Regions from separate parts of the Homo sapiens genome. Here all the other regions are linked to region 3. Evidence: promoter capture Hi-C in 16 types of primary human blood cells and fetal thymus (Javierre and others, 2016). All regions are on one chromosome and are shown on one strand. Each heading gives the region's core, a stretch centred on a gene start or on the middle of the fragment in contact. The rest is flanking DNA. Distances are from core to core; before and after follow the strand shown.

Region 1 (4,161 bases), core at 586-3,085, 70 kb after region 3:
GCTTTTCCCAGGACACTTTGGATTTCTCGTGTCTAGGGACCAGCAGACGTGAAGAGGAGTTGCCATACTGTCAAGGCTAAGTAACCTTGATTAGCAGGAGGGAGGTAGGGCTGCTTTTACCCAATAGAGGCAGAAAAGAATTTATGTAGAACCCAAGTAATCTACTTGGGTGCTTTCTGTTACTCCCATGCTCCATTTTAACTGTGAATGTAAGTGTGTAGCCACCTCAGCCTGAGAAAAATATGATTACCAAGGGCTTAACCCTCAGAACTGGTGAGAGGGTAAATAAGAATAAGCAACTAAGACCTAAGGGTAAAGGGAGATTAGAATACATAGTAAAGGAAGGAGTGGATGGGTGCTAGTTACAGCCCCAAGATCTGCGGCATTGACAGTGACTACAGTTTGTTTGTCCACAGTAAACTTCCTCTTAAGTTTCCCTTCAGGAACAGAGACTGGTAGGAAGCCTGGAGGAGTTGTCTCTTGAACCTGTCTGGGGAAGCAGATCTGTGTGGCTCAAGAGGTGGACCTGGCCAGGCACGGTGGCTCACACCTGTAATCCCAGCACTTTGGGAGGCTGAGGAGGGCAGATCACCTGAGGTAAGGAATTCAAGACCAGCCTGGCCAACATGGTGAAACCCTGTCTCTACTAAAAATACAAAAATTAGCTGGGTGTGGTGGCGCATGCCTGTAATCCCAGCTACTCAGGAGGCTGAGGAAGGAGAGTTGCTTGAACCCAGGAACCGAAGGTTGCAGTGAACCGAGATTGTGCCACTGCACTCCAGCCTGGGTGACTGAGTGAGACTCAATCTCAAAAAAAAAGACGGACCCATTCTAAAAAAGTTTCTACATGAGTTTATAAGTACTCGCTTCTGCATGTCTGAAAAAATCTCTGTCTAATAAGAGAGACACACCTCAAAAGTTTTATCAATAAAAAAGGTACAAAAAAGTCAGAATAAAAATAGGACATAAAATCAATGCTATAAATATTAAACAGATTATGAATAACTTTGTGCTAATATATTTGGGAACTTTAGACGAAATGGATAAATTCCTACGTGGGAAAAAACAATCTACCAAAGCTTTCTCAAGAAGAAATGGAAAAGTTAGCATCTCTTTAACCATTAAGGAAATTGAAACAGAAGTTTAAAATAGTTTGAGGCTAAGCCTGGTGGTGTGTACCTGTAGACCCAGCTACTCTGGAGGCTGAGGCAGCAGGATTATTCGAGATCAGGAGTTCAAGCCCAGGAGTTTGAGGCACCTGAGACCGAGTGTTCAAGGATCAGTTGAGACCAGTAATTCGAGGTATGCTCTGTGATTGCACCTGTGAATAGCCACTGCACACTAGCCTGGGCAACATAGGAAGACCCATCTCCAAAAAAAAAAAAAAAGGAAAAGAAAAAAGAAAAAGCAGTCTCAAAGAAAATAAGAAAATATCAGGACCAAACAGCCTTACATGTGAGTTCTACCAAGTATTAAAATAACATATAATTCCAGTTACAAAATAAAGAAGGACTACTCCCCAATTCATTTCTGGAAGCTAACATATAACCTAGATACCAAAATTAAACAAGGCAATACAAAAAATTACAGACCAATCTCATTCGTGAACATAAATGCAAAAAAAATTTAACAAAATATTAGCAAATTAAATTTAGTCATATATAAAAAAGATTATATCACATAACCAAAATGGGTTTATCCCAGGAATACAAGGTTGGTTTAGTATTCTAAAATCAACTAATCTAATTCACCCCATTAACTGATTAAAGAAATATGCTGTATAATCCCATCATTCAACGAAATTCCCAATCCATTCAAGAGACATAAACAGGAGCAGAAGGGAAGAAACTTTTCTAATCTAAAAATGGGCATCTACAAAAGATCCACAGCAACAACCAGACCTACCAAAATGGCCCCTTAAAGATTTCTTGAAGGCACTTTTATAGCGAGCATTAGGCTAAGTGCTGAATGTCAAGAACAAAGGCAAAACAGCTATACCTCCTGGCATCGGGGGAAGGAATGAAAGTAATAGTATCCAGTTTTGTCACTGGATTATTCCAAAAGGGTAAAATCCTCACGCAACTCTGTTCCACAGGCACCGGGCTAGTCAGTTAATGGACGGCTGCCCTAGAGTCAAGTGCCCTCCTTTGCTTCAAAACCTTGTCACCATTCTGCTGGAGTCACAGGGTAGAGAATATGAACACCTTTGGATGCTTCCTCTCGTGGATAAAATAACCTCCTTCAGAAGGGGATCGGTGATGTAATGGATTCCATGAAAGAAATAAACTCTTCTCCAGCGCAGCTGAACTGTAAAGCTCATAACACAAGTAGGTCCTCAGTGCATATTCACTTCCTTTCCTTCTTACCTGAGGTGCTGCAGTGTGAATCTGAAGGTGGCAGGTTCAACGTTAAAGTGCTGCAGTGTATGAAAGTTATGGTAGACTCAGAAATCTGTTCTTCAACAGTTAGACTGTATTTATGCTGGCTGGATTTTGTTTATTCACCTATTATCGTCTACCCGTGTCAGCAACCAAGAAACCTGCAGCCTGTCTCAAAGGAAACCAAGAAAGAAGTTTTGGACTCTTGTGCAGGAAGCTTGTGGCGCGGCGCCCCCTGCCGACCAATACGACGGCCACGGGAACTGGGAGACCACGAAGGCTCTGGGCCTGCGGAGTTGCCCAAGCTCCTCCGGCTTCTCCGGAAACGGCTTTTTCCGGTGACACCCCTGGAGCCACAGTGATTTGTTTCCCTAAAGGAAGCGGTTTCCCGCCAGGGTATCGTCCCTAATACCCTCCGAAGGAGCCCATTGAGGAGAAAGGCATAGAATGTCCCGCAGAAGGCAGAAGGACCCTATGATCCAGGAAACCTAGGGCCAGCCATCAGGAGGTTTTATGAGAGCAGCTGGTGGGAAGATCAGCCCCAGGAGAAGGGGATTGTCTAGCAGCTTGGTTGGAGCAAGTCTTTTCCCGAGTATTATTTCCGTAATTCAGGCTCCCTCCCACCAACCCTCCACTGCAGCCTTATCCTCCACCAAAAGCCCTGACACTGTGGCAGGGGTAGGGCACATGGGGTTGGTGGGGAACAGGCTGTAAGAAAGACGCAGGAGCCTGCGTGCAAAGGACGAAGCATTTACAAAGAAGACCTTGACAGTGCTGCACAGATTTGAAGGCGTAGGGTGCAAGTCATTCAGGTGCCGTTGTCAGGAGGAACCTAGCCATCCAGGTGAACAGATGCCCCCTTCTTGCAGCCCACTCGCATGGGCCTGGTGGACTCCTTCTTATTTTTGGTAGTGGCAGTGAAGAGGTCGGGTCCCTGTGCTGGCAAAGCAGTCAGTGACATTGACATCATGAGTACTGTTGTGGCAGCTGCACATGGAGGGGCTGTTGGTACAGGGCAGTGGTGGAGTTCTGCAGAAATCTGCTATGGTGGTCAGATTCTATGAATGAATGTGTGGATCTGCTCGCATTTACCCCTATAGATCAGCCAACGGCACCTCATCATCACATCACAGTATCGGTGGTGTCCTCTAGGGACCCACGACCTGGGGTTGTCTAAATGTCGTGTTGAGAAGGGCAGGGCTGGAATGAAGACAGTTACGTCCAAAAGGAGGAAAAGGAGGAGGGTCCACATCAGATTCATGTTTCCTGTGAAAGCATTTCAAAGAAGAGCAGAGTCAAAAGAACAAGCCACGGTCCCTTGTCCTGTTCCTAAGAAGTCTTGGCCCTATACTTAATGTTCCCAGTTCTCCCCTCCTGCCTTTTCTACACTTATTCTTTGTGTACTCTTGGCAACAAGTGTTCTCACATCCTTTTTCCACCTCCTTGTCAATAACGGAGATGACTACCGCCCTCTCAACCCTTTATGGGATTGTCCTATGTACAAGGTTATTTCCAAACCCCAAAGTGATTCTTGCTCCTTACCTAAGCAGACCAGTTAAACTAAAAACTTTCATCTCTGAGGTGTTTGCATCTATCAGTCCATCTGCTGCTCACCCATAGCCTGTGAGGTGAGGCAGGTATCATTGCCAACCCCTTTTTAGAGTGACCTAACTCAGAAGAGAATTGACAGATCCATATGACCTGCATCTTAGAAAATATTTTCACTTCCTTAAATACAAATGTCTGTTTAAACGCTGTTTTTAAAAATGTGAGCATTTCAATT
Region 2 (4,585 bases), core at 619-3,118, 89 kb after region 3:
AACAGCCCTGAGCTAGAGCCCCTTCCACAGACGCAGCTGTTACTCAGCTCTAATTGATACAACACCAATGGTGCACCAACCACCATCATGTGATTTTTAAAGATAAGACAGTAATGAAAACTTTTAGTGAACTATTCCAATGTCAAACTTTATCTTCCAAACCAAACATCATAAATAGCACTGTGTATGCTGAAAAGAAGCACTGTTTAGCCAAGTACCTGCCCTGGGGCTGCAGTCTATGTCTTTTGCCTCATACTATAGACACTTAAGTGCAAATGTTTCTAGCCAGTGTGGCTGTCAGCATCACAGAGGGGATACTCTACGTATCATTCACCTTTACATTCTCATCACCTACAAAAATGATCTCCACACAATATACATGAAAAAATAAACTTGCCTCATGATAAAGCTGCTAATGAATGTCGGCCAGAACAGGACTTCAAGGCAGAGCAATATTAGCTGCGCATTGAGTCCTCACCAGGTCACCATTGTGTCCACATTTACCTAAGGACCCCAGTGATAAAATTATTGCATTTCTAAATGACAGGAAAATTGGACGGTAGTAAAAATTAGGCAGATTAACTGTTGGAAGGTATATTATATCATTTAAGGGTCTACTTTCCATTTTCTAATCTCAAAGCTAGACCAGATTTAACATCTGTTAGTACCCAGGCCTTACCTTTGCAATTCACTTCTCACCTCTGTACAATTTCCCCACATCATCCCCTGTGCCCAGAATGCTCATCTCTTCTCTAAATCCCCTGAAAATCCCCTGCTTATCCTTTAGGACCTGCTGAAATAAACTTTTTTTTGAAGTTTTCCTTATTTCTCAAGCCAAGTGATTTCCTTCACCAGCAGTGTCCCTATGACACCATGTTCACACAAATGCTATTACCTCTATCACACTGTAATACAATTATATGTCTACAAGTACTTTCCTGTGTTTCTCTGAGGGCCAAGAATAAATGTATGCTTTGTGTATCAAACTGTACACTTGACCTCTATACTTTCAGGAATACAGTGCTCTGTCCTTAAATGTTCATTTGTAAATACAGAACCATATTCTTGTTAATATCACAAAATGAAACTTACCAGGAAGATGAATGACAACCCCAGAACACACTGTTTTGTAGAAAATACCATAGGCTGAAAAGATCACAGGAATACCGAGTGCTAGGTTGGAATCTTTCATGACACCAAATGTTCATTCATCCTCTGCCAGATTTTACAACTGTCCTCGGTGTGTTTTTAGGTTATGTAACTTTACACAAAGTGGAATCAATAATCAGGGCAAGACTTAAGAGAAAGTGGATCCAATGCAAGAGGAGTAAAGAAAAAAATTCCTCAATTGTATGGAGCAGATTGTTTTAATTATCTACAGAATCTTGTGCCCCAAGAAATTAATAGCTCAAGTTTCCAGCAAGAGTGGTGGATGAGATGGAGAGCATTTATGTGAGAGAGAACCAAGGATATTACTAAAAATGGAAGGGAAGCTGGGTTTCTCCTGGGCAAACAGCCCTCTGTGGCTCTATTTCTCCTAACTACTATGCCTGCCTTCGTGTCATTTAGTCATTTAGGGGCCTGCCAGAGGACAGTTATAAAATCTGTGGTCATTCTGCCGGCAGCGTATAGTTTTCACCCAGAGTCCAGATCCCACCGGCAAAACTCTGTCTAACACAGGATGACTTGGAATTAGAGTCCGTATAGCAGAAAGAGCAGCAGGGCTGTCCTTGGGTATCCGTTGCTCAGCCAAGTCATCAAATAAAAAGGATGATTGCACAAGTGGACCATGTGTCAATCTGTGGGTTTCTGCATGGCCAGACCCACCAAGGGAAGCTTTATTTAAACAGTTCCAAGTAGGGGAGACCAGCTGCCCCTGAACCCCAGAACAACCAGCTGGATCAGTTCTCACAGGAGCCACAGCTCAGAGACTGGGTAAGTCAACAATCCCCAGAGCTGGGACAGGAGGGGCAGCGACAGGGCAGCACCTGAGGGAGAGGTGAGCTGAAGTTAGTGCTTAGGAGATGTGGCACACTTTGGGGACAGGAAGAAAAGGAAATGCGACCCCAGAGTGGCAGCAGAGGGGCCTGTGGGTTGAGACACTATAGAGTGTGTCATAACCGAGACCGGATCGGGGAGTAGTTACTTCTCTTCTTTTCTTACAGGAAACATGGTTCCAAAACTGTTCACTTCCCAAATTTGTCTGCTTCTTCTGTTGGGGCTTATGGGTGTGGAGGGCTCACTCCATGCCAGACCCCCACAGTTTACGAGGGCTCAGTGGTTTGCCATCCAGCACATCAGTCTGAACCCCCCTCGATGCACCATTGCAATGCGGGCAATTAACAATTATCGATGGCGTTGCAAAAACCAAAATACTTTTCTTCGTACAACTTTTGCTAATGTAGTTAATGTTTGTGGTAACCAAAGTATACGCTGCCCTCATAACAGAACTCTCAACAATTGTCATCGGAGTAGATTCCGGGTGCCTTTACTCCACTGTGACCTCATAAATCCAGGTGCACAGAATATTTCAAACTGCACGTATGCAGACAGACCAGGAAGGAGGTTCTATGTAGTTGCATGTGACAACAGAGATCCACGGGATTCTCCACGGTATCCTGTGGTTCCAGTTCACCTGGATACCACCATCTAAGCTCCTGTATCAGCAGTCCTCATCATCACTCATCTGCCAAGCTCCTCAATCATAGCCAAGATCCCATCCCTCCATGTACTCTGGGTATCAGCAACTGTCCTCATCAGTCTCCATACCCCTTCAGCTTTCCTGAGCTGAAGTCCCTTGTGAACCCTGCAATAAACTGCTTTGCAAATTCATCTGGAAGTGTCTGTGTGTCTTCCTCGGCCGCTCTGCTGTCATTTAGTGACAATCTGCTCTAGAGATTTGGGTTTATCATGAATCTCTCCCCCTCAATATCTGACCAAATTCCTTAATTCCCCCATCATCCTTCATGTGATACCTGATTCCAGGCCTGCCTTAAAAAAAAATCCAATTGAGTCAACTTAGCATTGGTCTCCCTAGCCTTAATATCTCCTCTAAGCAATTTTCCATCCACTGACTCCTCCCCCAACACCAACCTATAACTTGTGTATAGATCTCCACTTGTTTTAGTTGTATTCCAGAATTGAGCCCAATTTGATATTGAGGTCCCATTTGATGCTTTATGGTCCGACTATGGTTTTTATTGACATGATTTCTATCCCAAGAAAAAAAGAGCTGCAGTGAATCAGCTGAAAATGCACGTGCTTCATTATGATTTATGAATGATAAATTTTGATAGAATTGAACGTTATGATAGAAAATAGAAAAGAAGAAAGTAGAAAAAGTCAAGAATGCTATAAATAAGGTGAAACCAAGATAAAGAAAAGTTTAGCCTCAGGGATATTTCTTTTAAATGGGCACATCAAGTCTCCAGCTATTAGCAATCGTAATAGAGGTGGAACCAGGGTTTGAGTCAAATGTGCAATAAGATAAATTGTTCCGACAGCAGTAAGGACAGATTGTAATGCTGACTGGAGGAGAGGTGGACATCTTTCCCAAAAGTTCCATGTCCTGGAGATGGGGAGCCGCTGGTCACGTGGGAAGGAGAAGGGGGAGGAGGAGGAGGAGGAAGTGGGAGCACTCATGAAGGTGAGTTGGCTCCTGCCCATTCTGCCCTCCATAGATGTTCCCAATGGCGAGTCAAAGGTTCATTCAACACCTGTCAGGAAGGGCACAGCCTCGAGAATTCAGGATTTGTAGACCCAGAGAGAGAAGAAATGGATGATGAGAGCCGCTGCCCTGGACTCCAACACAGGGCTTCACTCAGGAATCCATGAGAAACAGGGGAGAAAAAGGGGAAGCCCCTTCCTGCAAGTTGTGGACAGGTGCAGCATTCAAGTGATTGTTCCAGGAACAGAGTGGGTCTTTTTGAATGGCCCGACTCAGAATGCAAGAGAGGTACGATGCCATCAGATCTGCACCTTGGTCCTTCAGTCTGAGATTTCTGACTTCTATATTTCTCCTCCTCTTCCAGACCCTGAGAAACAGCAATTTCCATTCCTCAGATGACTCCATGTCAGTAATGGTGCTTTAATTGGCATCAGACAGCAGCTGTATTGAAGTCTCTCCTCTGGAGAAGCTATTGAGATCTTGCTTCTCCAAGGTCGGGCTGTGAACTTAAAAGTTTGCACAGAGACACTGAGTTTGGGAAATCTCAGTGCTCAACAGAATCCACTGACTCTAGGTAAAACAGGGCATGTCAGGAAGTGAGTGCAGTCTTCCCATAACCTCAGAGTAGCAGAAGGAGAAGGTGGGACTCTGAAAGCTGGAGCCACGTTTCCTGTGAAGAAAGATGGAGTGGACCTTCCTTGCTTCAGGTACCAGATCACAGGTCTCTTCTCAGTCGGGGATGCCTCATCTCTAAAACCACAGGATAGAGGGATCAGTCCCCACCTGCCCCCACACCCTCTCCACCTTGTGACTTCATCCTCTCTCGTCATTCATTCCTTCGTTCATTCATTCATCCAGCAGTCATCTACTGAGCAGATACCTTGCTCCAGGCACAGTTTGAGGGAGTGATGATGCAAC
Region 3 (4,234 bases), core at 1,508-4,007:
AGTGTTGACAGATGCCAAAGGTAGTCTTTCAGTGGCTGTCAGGAAGGGTTGCCAAGAGTGGAGTGGACTCACAGGCTAAGAACACTGGGAGCCTGTGAGAGCCCACCAGCAAGCTCTGGGAGAGAGCTACCGCTCCACAGCACTTACTGAGGAGGGGAGCTTTCTTCCTGAGTTAGAGCAATGGCTTCCTGAGTTAGAACAATGGCTTGGAAGTCAGGAAACCTAGGGTGTAGTCCCGGCTGTGCCACTAACTAGCAACAAGCCATGTGCAAGTCACCGGAAAGGCAGGGGTCACATTTGGTCAGGGATGGCAAATGTGTGGCACACACACCCTTCCCCCTCTCGTGCCTTCGATAGAGGCTGTTGTTCAACCACACCACTGTCCAGAATTTTTTGCTACAGCATTTTGGGTAGGCACTTCCTTTTTTTTTTTTTTGAAACAGAGTTTCACTCTTATTGCCCAGGCTGGAGTGAAGTGGCACCATCTCAGCTCACTGCAACCTCCGCCTCCCAGGTTCAAGTGATTCTCCTGCCTCAGCCTCCCTAGTAGCTGGATTACAGGCACCTGCCACCACGCCCCACTACTTTTTGTATTTTTAGTAGAGAGGGGGTTTCACCATACTGGTCAGGCTGGTCTTGAACTCCTGACCTCAGGTGATCCACCTGCCTCAACCTCCCAAAGTGCTGGAATTATAGGTGTGAGCCACCACGCCCGACCGGCACTTCCAATTAGAGTTGGTACACAAACTGAAATCTACTTGCTATCCCTCAATTCCGTGCTCTCCAAAGTCACTTCTGGCTCTAAAATGTAAGGTTCTGGCTTTCCAACTAAGAGGTGCCCATTTTTCTGATTTAGTAATAGCTCACTCAAAAAAAAAAAAGGAAAATGGAAATTTAGGATCATAATTTCATTGAGTCCTCTTCCCCACCCTGAGGCTAAGCAGGATCTTCCTGAGGTCACACTTGCCTTCCTTCTGTGCCAGAGAATGATTGTATTTGAGCTTCACCCCTCTGTCAGTTCACCCTGCATGGCAGTGTCCCAGGCTGTAGCTCCCTTTTGTCTAAAACAGCCCACACTTAACAGTTTTATGTTTGGCATCAGGGAATCTACAAGGAAAGGAATTTTCTCAAGCCACTAAAATCCAAGTCAGAAGGGAAGGCATTTAATTACTCCATTCACCGTTCTCCAAAGTGAATCAGATTTACAGTTCTTACCCCTTGCTGGAAGGCAATGCCAGAAACAGTACCTAGACAGAACCGCTTCAGAAATCAGGTGTTTGCAACTGCGTTTTATTGAAAGAAAGAGTGGAGGGGTTAACATGGGGCCCACCTCACAACCCACTCTTCACCCCCAAAATCACGCAGGGATGGGACTCAGGAAAGGGAAGCATGTGTGTGTTGAATAGGAGCCCTAACTGTAGTTACTTCTTTCACAGCAGGGAAGGAAGAGGGAAGAGGCAGCTGTGGAGAGGATGAGGTTGAGGGAGGTGGGGTATCTCGCTGCTCTGACCTTAGGTAGAGTCCTCCACAGAAGCATCAAAGTGGACTGGCACATATGGGCTCCCTTCACAGGCCACAATGATGTGTCTCTCCTTCGGGCTGGTCCGGTATGCACAGTTGGGGTACCTGGAGCCGTTTGTCAGGCGGCAGTCTGTGATGTGCATGCTGGAGTTGCTCTTGTAGCAGTTGCCCTGCCCGTTCTTGCAGGTGACCTTTTCCTGGAAACAGACATTCTGGACATCTACCAGGGGCTCGTGCACAAAGGTGTTCACTGGTTTGCACCGCCCCTGTGTCATATTCCGGCGCCTCATCATTTGGTTACAGTAGGTGGAGCTGCTGCTGGGGGAACTGTCTGAGTCCATATGCTGCCGCTGGAATTTCTTGGCCCGGGATTCCTTGCCCAGGGAAGGCTGGACCCAGCCCAGCACCAGCAGTATCAGGACAAGCAGAAGGAGCCGGACAAGAGACTTCTCCAGAGCCATGGTGGCCTCACTTTCCCAGAAAAGCCTAATTGAGAAAAGGAGAGAGAAGGAAAAGAGCCCTCTTAGAAAAAGAACTCCAGCTCCCACCTATGGCTTGCCTGGTTTACACTTTCTGTTTCAGGTCAGCCAGAAAGACGTCCATCCTACTTCCTGAGGTTTTTCGTGTAATGAGACACTCACGTGTACCCTTTTCCACGAGCGTTTTATTCCCACTCTCCAAAGCGAGGTCTTCCTCCCCTCTAGGTGGTGACCTACAAAGTGACCTAAAATCCTGTCAGTTCCTATCTTTGAATACTGGAGTTTCTTTGATCCAAAATACATTTGTACCCAGTGCTCAAATGGCTCATCGAAACATCAGTTTGAATAAATCATGAACCAAATTGTATCCCCGACATCCAGGGCCATGGGTGACAGAGCCTTGTTGTCTTGGAGCATAAGGGAACTCAGGCCAGTGCCTGACACTGGCATCATAAAAGATTCCATTGTATTCCAGAGAGAAACGCTGGCCTCCCCCAATTTGGAGGCTCCTTCTTCTCCAGTCCCATGGATGCTCTGCAGCCTGCACGTTCCACCCTGACCCCTCTGCCCCCAGCTGATGTTTGCCTGGGCCACATTTTTTCAGCGCTAGCATCACCCAATCTTTCTCAGTGCTGTGGACTGGCCCTAGCTCCCTCTTCTGCAACCCTGAAGCAGAAGCGGCACCTGAGAACACCTCTTGGGCTGCTTACCTGGATCTGCAGCTTGGTGTCTGAGAGAGATGGAAGGCCAGTTTCTGCAATCACTCAGCTCCCGGGGTGTGGACCTTATACAGATTACAAAGGGGTTTGGCTTCCAAGAGGAAAAGGGTGGGAGGAGCATCTGGAGCTCAGTTCAAATAAAATCAAGGACGTGAGGAAGGAGTGGTGAATCACCCAGGCCGCCGTCTTTCTAGGGCTGCTGAAGAAAGAGCAAATCTTTGCCTACGTTAGTCTTTCTTCCTATGTGAACCACATCTGTCTGCTGATGCACAAGGAGCAGCAGAGAAAGCCACTACAGCACTGGTGCCCAAACCTGGCACACTAGGAACAAAGTCCTTGTTACTTCTTCGTGGGCGTTTTCACCAAGTAGACTTGGAGGTTAACAAAGGACGCAAAGGAGAGGTTCTAATGGGAGATAGGGAATTCTGGCCAAAGCTATTCCAGGGCTCCTAGGGAGCAAAACCCAAGTCTCTTTCTAGGAGGGCATTCTCCCAACGCTACCTCTCCCGGGGATGGGAGGCGGGGTCGGGGGGAATGGAGGCTGTCCTGCTGCCCCCAGCTGGAAGGCTTCCCAGATCTGGAGAAGAAAGGGGGAGTAACTGAATAGGGAGGAGGAGGAGGCCTCTAGGGTGCGCTCACCCAGTTCTGGCCACTTCCCACCCACCCTCCACCCCTGCTCTGGGGGCATCGAGAGGATGGGGCTGTTCTTATCTACAGTAACCACTGACCCTGTAGGTCGGAATTGAGTAGAGGAACTAAAGATAAACTTAAATCCCAAATCTCAAATTCTTTTTGGGGAAAAAATACAAAGAATATCATATTTATTAGCAGCAGAATGCCCTCCTAGAAAGAGACCTGTTTTTTTGCTGAGTAACAATTTGGATACCTCTAAGAATTATCAAAATATCCCTTCGTGCTGTGTATTCAGATTGTTTCAGCCTTTCTGTGTAAAAAGTGGCCATAGTGAAATTATCTGACCTACCTTGTGTGATTGTAGGTCGTAAGATCCTCATTCCAGAGAGGGTCCTGCCCCCCATACCCAGAAAAAAAGGACGAATGCTCAGAGAGGCCAAGAAGAATCTAGACAGGGAGGCCTTGCTGGGTTTCCCCACTCAGTCTATTTTCATTAGATCGCCCTGTTGTCCAGTCATATTTCTACACAGCTGTTCATACTTTGTTGATATCCAAGTGTAAGAATGCCCACTTTCCCCTGTTATCTTTGGGTCTTCTGAAGGCTCCCGTGTCGTGTAAAACTACGATCAAATCAATTTGTATGCGTTTTTTCCTATCAATCTGTCTTTTGTCAGTTGATTTTCAGCAAACCTTTGGAGGGTGAAAGGGGAATTTTTCCTTGGCCCCTACAGTTTCCTTACTCCCCCAGCCCCCACCTGTATTTTATTTTTCTGAGTCTTTAATAATACTTTTATTCTCTTGAATAGTCAAGTTAGAATGTGTTCATTCATTCATTAGACTGTGGGATACAGACATAAATAAGGCACAGGACTCACCTGAAGG

What was found. Contacts are between HindIII fragments. The CHiCAGO score rates a contact against its expected background, and 5 or more counts as called.
Region 1: a contact is called between a fragment that was not itself captured here and the fragment with the promoter of RNASE1 in region 3, in 1 of 17 cell types (M2 macrophages). The highest score is 5.9, in M2 macrophages.
Region 2: the fragment with the promoter of RNASE3 here is called in contact with the fragment with the promoter of RNASE1 in region 3 in 7 of 17 cell types (monocytes, total CD4 T cells, naive CD8 T cells and 4 more); the score reaches 11.2 in monocytes.

The regions. Positions count from the first base shown.
Region 1 is chr14:20,871,193-20,875,353 of GRCh38, forward strand. It overlaps LOC100507513 (a long non-coding RNA gene), which reads right to left. Exons shown (of 4, transcript XR_110261.4): 3 at 2,367-3,644. Among named protein-coding and RNA genes, the nearest start is that of RNASE3, 18 kb to the right of the region's middle. RefSeq lists enhancers at 2,600-2,699, 2,810-2,859. The HindIII fragment of the contact is 1,516 bases long and covers 1,078-2,593 here.
Region 2 is chr14:20,889,517-20,894,101 of GRCh38, forward strand. RNASE3 (ribonuclease A family member 3) reads left to right here and starts at 1,869. Exons shown (of 2, transcript NM_002935.3): 1 at 1,869-1,935; 2 at 2,166-2,832. The coding sequence starts at 2,171. The coding sequence ends at 2,653. All of the region lies in intron 1 of LOC100507513 (a long non-coding RNA gene), which reads right to left. The HindIII fragment of the contact is 4,045 bases long and covers 1,835-4,585 here.
Region 3 is chr14:20,800,087-20,804,320 of GRCh38, forward strand. It overlaps RNASE1 (ribonuclease A family member 1, pancreatic), which reads right to left and starts at 2,758. Exons shown (of 2, transcript NM_002933.5): 1 at 2,711-2,758; 2 at 1,142-2,007. The coding sequence starts at 1,982. The coding sequence ends at 1,512. The region is part of intron 3 of LOC105370397 (a long non-coding RNA gene); the gene reads left to right. It overlaps LOC107984671 (a long non-coding RNA gene), which reads right to left and starts at 443. Exons shown (of 3, transcript XR_001750624.2): 1 at 1-443. The HindIII fragment of the contact is 7,079 bases long and covers 1-4,234 here.